2 separate regions of the Homo sapiens genome follow, and region 1 is linked to region 2. Evidence: promoter capture Hi-C in 16 types of primary human blood cells and fetal thymus (Javierre and others, 2016). All regions are on one chromosome and are shown on one strand. Each heading gives the region's core, a stretch centred on a gene start or on the middle of the fragment in contact. The rest is flanking DNA. Distances are from core to core; before and after follow the strand shown.

Region 1 (2,925 bases), core at 173-2,672, 1.5 Mb before region 2:
TACAGGCGTGTGCCACCATGCCTAACTAATTTTTTTTTTTTTTTTTTAAGTAGAGATGGAGTTTCACCATGTTGGCCAGGCTGGTCTCGAACTCCTGTCCTCAAGTGATCCACCCGCCTTGGCCTCCCAAAGTGCTGGGATTACAGGCATGAGCCACCACACCTGGTCCACAATAGAAAGTTTTAAAATGCAGTGGATAAGATTAGCCATCTGTAGAAATTCAGTATTTGTTTGGACTGAGAAGTTAGGAAGGATCACTCAAGCAAGGTTAAGGTAACTAGTTTGTAATTTCAGGGAATTAATGATTGTTAAGAACATACCAAAGTGAAGCGTTATGATGATGAATGCTGCTGTGGTACAGTTAAAATATAACCTAATCTTAGTGGATAACTGCATCTAAGCTGAGCCCTATGCAGGGAGACGGTGAGCATTAAGCTGAAGAGTCATCATTGATCCAGTGAATGCCTGTGTCTCCTAGACCCAAGAGAAAAGGACATTGGTCAGGGCAGGGGACGTCCAGGATTTTCCATGTCCAAGATCAACATTTCTCTAAGTGTGATCTCTGGACTGCCTGTACTAATATCACCTGGGTTTGTTGCTAAAAATGCAGAATCCTGGCTCTACTCCAGTCTCAGCCGTTTGAGGGGAAGGGACCCAGGTTCTTACACTTTAATAAATCTTCTTCCAGGTGAATCTTAGCACATGTAAAGTTTGAAAACTGTAGCTTTAAATAAAGATGACAGTAGCTTCTCCTTATTGAGCAATTTACCATCTGCCAGATCTCATGCTGAGCTCTCTACATATATTAACGTTTTTGTAAATTATATATTTGTATATGTCAGGGAGGAAAAATATTTTTTTCCTCAACCTTCATGAGTGCTTAGTTGGAAAGGACCCCTGCAACAAAAGACAGATTAACAAGAGAAAAACAAGCTTACTAACATATCTATTTCATTTATATGTGTGGGAGATACCCAGGGGATGAGTCATTCTCAGAGGTGGCTTTGAATTCCAGCTTATGTAGTATCTTCAACAAAGAATGGTAATTTTTTAGAGAAGTGACAAGACAAAGGGGAAGAACTTTGTCTAGGGGCAGAACTTGTGGGAAGGCAAGTAAGTGGTGATAAAGGCCCGTTAGCAAAGCTTGTTAGTGTGGATTCCTCTGGTGCTGTCTTCTGGCCCATAAAGGTCTAAAGTTGTTAGTGGTTAACCTTTGTTCTCCCTGGTAGAGAGGGAGGAGGCAGGAACCTTTTTATGCCAAAGACGCATGCTTTGGGGTGACATAGTCCAGTCTCTCCCACACACATATTTATCTTTACAGCCTTATGAAGTAGTTGATGAGGAGAACTCACATTAGAAAAATGTGCTTGCTGTAGGTTACCCAGTTCTAAACAGCAAAGCAAGACCTCAAACCAGGTTCTGACTCCAAAGCCTGTGCTCTTAGCTACTATACCACTGCCTCCCATCAGACTCCTCTGATCCCATGTCTACCAGAGACTCTCATTCATGAATCGGCCTTTCACATGCCCTTTGTGGGGCAGCTGTGTCCTAATAGAGGATGTGAATATTCTTGTCACTGGGCAGGAACAGTTCCTGTTGTATATTAATAAATTAATGTCTGGCTTATGCATTAGCCTTTTTAAAGGTAGTTCTGAGTCCTAAAGAATACTTGATAATTTATACTTGATATAAAGAAGCTTGAAACATTTCTGCAGCTATTATATATATATTCTTGTGATTCTAAGCCTTTTTTCCGCTCCTGTGGAATCTCATCAATTCCTAAGAGATTGAACATGTTCCCATCAATGACAAGAACCTACTATGGAATTACTAGCCCGAGGGCAGGATTAAGGGCCTACTCCTTTAGTTCTGAGAAAGCTTCACGCATGAGAATTAGTGGTTGATTTCCAAAGGACCAGAAGAAGCTGGTGGGAGTTGAGGCAGTGAAGACTACACACAGGCTTTTATAGACCGTGCCATGTGCTCACCTTTCTCATTTAATTCTGCCAGTTCTACATGGTAGGTACTAACAGATCCACTTACTAATTCCGAACTCAAAAAGCTCTATAAAGCAAGATTTTTTTTTTCCCCTTAAATTTGCAACAGATTCATTTGGTAGTAGATCTTTACCTGAACTGATGTGAGGCTGTTTATAGTCTTAGTTCATACTTTTTGATGCAGAAATATTAATGCTTGATTACAGGGTGCTGCCCAGACCTCACAGGTATTATAAGGTGTCAGCTGTGTGTCAGGTATGAGCGCCATGTTGTCTTTCTAAAATTTAAAGAATTTTCCAAAACACTTTTGACTTCAAGAGTTTCAGATGAGAAAGTTGAAGTTAGGTTAAGTGTTTGTTCAACTCTTTGCTGCTGAGTTATGTAAATGGATTTGAAAAAAAAAAAGCCATATATGCTTTTTTCAACACTTTAAGGGCCCGTTGAGTGTCATTTAGCCCATTGTTTGTTAGCCTTGCAAATCCTTCTAGAGTTGTAGAAAAAGCCTCAAGAAGAGTGTGTTGTGTTGTGTTTGAGACAGTCTCTGTCACCCAGGCTGTAGTGCAGTGGCACGATCTCGGTTCACTGCAACGTTCACCTCCCACGTTCAAAAGATTCTCATGCCTCAGCCTCCTGAGTACGTGGGATTACAGGCGCGTGCCACCACGCCGGACTAATTTTTGTATTTTTATTAGAGGTGGGTTTTTGTCATGTTGGCCAGGCTGGTCTTGAACTCCTGGCCTGCCTTAAGCAATCTGCCTGTTTTGGCCTCCCAAAGTGTTGGGATTACAGGTGTGAGCCACCATGCCTGGCCAAGAAGAGTGTTTTTAAAGTCAAGTTCTGAGTCTTTTACAGTTTGATCATCAGTAAGCTTCAAACCATTTCTCCCCTCTTTCTGGTTCTGTCCAGGGAAATACTGTGACTTTTTCCT
Region 2 (3,136 bases), core at 212-2,711:
TGTGGACAGTGGGTTGGGGACCCCATGGACAGGCAGGTACTAGTCTGTGCACAGGGGGTTGGGGACCCCCGCCCTACTGGAATGTAAACTGCACGAGGGCAAGGAATTGTATTTTTGTGCCCCAGGATATCGATGAACATTCCTATTATGTACAGGCAGTTTTTTTTTTGTTTTGTTTTTTGTTTTTTTTTTTTAAGAGATGGGGTCCTTGCTATATTGCCCAGGCTGGTCTTGAATTCCTGGCCTCAAATGATGCTCCCGCCTTGGCCTCCCAAACTGCTGGGATTACAGGCGTGAGCCACTGCACCCGGCCCACCATCCCAGTTTTTTTTTTTTTTTTTTTTTTTCTGAGACGTGATTTCTTTCTTGTTGTCCAGGGTGGAGTGTAATGGCGTGGTCTTGGCTCATTGCAACCTCTGGTTCCTGGGTTCTAGCGATTCTCCTGCCTCAGCCTCCCAAGTAGGTGGGATTACAGTCACCCACTACCACGCCTGGCTAATTTTGTGTGTGTGTTTTTGGTAGAGACGGGGATTTCTCCATGTTGACAAGGCTGGTCTCGAACTCCTGACCTCGTGATCCGCCCGCCTCGGCCTCCCAAAGTGCTGGAATTACAGGCATGAGCCACCGCACTCGGCCGACTCACTATCCCAGTGACAGCCAATGACAGCCTTGTTGCAGGAAGGTGGTATTACACTCATTCCCATTTTAATGATCAGGGATCAGGTTCGGAGAGGCCAGGGCGGAGAGCCCGCCCGAATCCAGTGCCCCCGACGGCGGTTGGGCGAGGGTCCGGGAGCTCCAAACCGCCTAGGGCCGCCTGCTCGGGATCCCCGTTGCTCACCTTGGCCTCGGGCTGACTCTCCTCGAGATCCCAACCGGCTTTCATCGCCTCAGCTGCCCCGACCAGCTTATTTGGGGCCTGCCTGCTTTCCCTGACCTTCCTGGGGTGTCTCTCGGTCCCTTCCCTCTCTGGCTCCATGGCTGTGGAGAAAGATGAGGTAGAGCTGGGGAAACTCCAGCGCCCCTATTCCCCCGCGTGCCGCCTCCTAGCGGGAGAGCTACACGGGCTTGACAGCTTTCAACCTCCCTCGGATCCGCTTCTCAATTCAGTTTACCGAACTATCCCCGTTCCCCTAAAAAAGCGAAGGTGCCAACGATCTCCCCGTTCCGCGGACTGGACACCCGCGCCGCTCTAACCCAAACGGCTTTACCGTCCGCATCGGTTACCGGATTCTCAACGGTTCCCCAACGGCTACAACGGGCGTCTGCCTGGCAAAGAAGGAAGGTGCTGCCGAGCGGCTTCGCCGCCTAAAACCACTCCCCACGCCCCCTAGCCCGGGAAACGCAGAAGAGAAGACGGGCGGGGAGCAGAGGTTCTCCCCTCCTTAGCCACAGCTGCCAACAACAACCGCCCCTCAGCCTCGCGGGCTTTTTGAACGGACCGGAAGTAGAAGTCGAGCGACTTCCGGCAGCTGGACTTGGAAAAGCAAGGAGTGTCGGGAATGGCGACCAAGCGGCTCGCGCGGTACTCGAGGGAGTTCCGGGTCGGGGGCGGGTAGCTCCGGGTCCAGCGCTGGCGTTGGCCGCAGAGCAGGGCACGGCAGGTGGCATCTGCGGTGAGGGCCTCTATTCCCCGCAGCCCCGGCGTCTGCGACCTGCCCTCTCTGGCACGGTTGGAAAGGCGCCTCCCTGGACCTCGGTCTTCAGCCTTGGGCCACCTTCTACCCGAGGGTGACAGGAGCCCGAGGCGGACGAACCCTGGGGCCTTGACTGTGTGGCCTTGAGCCAGTGCCTGCCTATTTTAGGCCTTGGGAAACGACTGGACGTGACAGTGCCCTGCAGACTGGTTGGAGGTCTCAGGCAGGCCACACACTGAATCTGTCAAGGTGTTCAACCTGTTCGAAATGCTCGTTCCTCGGTGCTGTAAAGAAATAGAACTTAAACTTAAATTTAATTTATTTAGTAAGGCCATTTTTACTTCCTGCAGAAAGGGTACACTCGCCAGCAGTTTTGCCAGGAGAGTACACTGAACAAAGGAGACAGGGTCATTTATAACGTGGCGCGTCCACCCTACTGCTGTGTCCGGTTTCCTTTGGCTGGAACGGGACCTCACATTCTGTATTTGTCCCGACTGACTAGCAACATAGAACTTTTTAAAAGAGGCAAAGGCAGAGGAGAACAAAGGAAGAAGGAAGTAACTTGTGGAATGCTGAGAAAGGTAAAAACACTTTTAAGTAAGGAAGAGGAACAGGCTATGACCTAATGTTTGATTGGACCAGTATAAGCATGCCAGGGCAAATATTTAGGCTAAATTGTGGGAGCTAAGAACATAAAGTACATTGATTTCTTTATTATATCTAGCAGATATTTAAGAATGTTAGCACAGGTCTTTGAATAAATTTTGCTCTAAGAGAAGTTACTATTTATTCCTAATTAGACGGGGAAGGAAGTCTTTGAAGAGGAACCTCTACTTTTTACAAACCCATTTTCTAGTGATCTTTTTTTTTTTTTTTGAGACGGAGTTTTGTTGCCTAGGCTAGAGTGCAGTGGTGCGATCTCGGCTTACCATAACCTCTGCCTCCCGGGTTCAAGTCATTCTCCTGCCTCAGCCTCCCAAGTAGCTGGGATTACAGGCATGCACCACCACACCCAGCTAATTTTGTATTTTTAGTAGAAATGGGGTTTCTCTATGTTGGTCAGACTGTTCTCGAACTCCCGACCTCAGGTGATCCACCCGCCTCAACCTCCCAAAGTGCTGGGGTTACAGGTGTGAGCCACGGTGCCTGGCCTAGTGATCCTTTTAATTCACAATATGAATTATTGTGTCCTCCCTGATTCCTGGATGCGCTGTGCATATTTCTGATTACTAGAAAGATGTAATATAATAGCAAATAGCATGAGCTTCAGAATTGGACAGTCTTGGGTTCACATACCAAAGCTATGTTCTTTGGCAAATTAAGAATCAGTTTTCTCATCCATAAAATATAGGTAGGAAAAGTTTCTAGCTACTACACTTGTTGAGGATTAAAGGAGGCCATCATCTTAGTTTAATTTTAGTACCTGCTATGTAGTAAGCAGTCAATAAATGATATTTATTATTCCCAAATCCTGGCACTTCCCACTCTTAGCAAACACA

The links. The method cuts DNA at HindIII sites, captures the fragments that hold promoters and counts their contacts. A CHiCAGO score of 5 or more calls a contact.
Region 1: a contact is called between a fragment that was not itself captured here and the fragment with the promoter of ERI2 in region 2, in 1 of 17 cell types (erythroblasts). The highest score is 5.3, in erythroblasts.

The regions. Positions count from the first base shown.
Region 1 is chr16:22,351,849-22,354,773 of GRCh38, reverse strand. The region is part of intron 2 of CDR2 (cerebellar degeneration related protein 2); the gene reads left to right. Among named protein-coding and RNA genes, the nearest start is that of CDR2, 21 kb to the left of the region's middle. The HindIII fragment of the contact is 554 bases long and covers 1,146-1,699 here.
Region 2 is chr16:20,804,797-20,807,932 of GRCh38, reverse strand. It overlaps ERI2 (ERI1 exoribonuclease family member 2), which reads left to right and starts at 1,461. Exons shown (of 9, transcript NM_001142725.2): 1 at 1,461-1,525. The coding sequence starts at 1,503. It overlaps REXO5 (RNA exonuclease 5), which reads right to left and starts at 1,406. Exons shown (of 20, transcript NM_030941.3): 1 at 1,228-1,406; 2 at 842-981. The coding sequence starts at 979. RefSeq lists enhancers at 602-741, 1,462-1,571, 1,320-2,265. The HindIII fragment of the contact is 22,874 bases long and covers 1-3,136 here.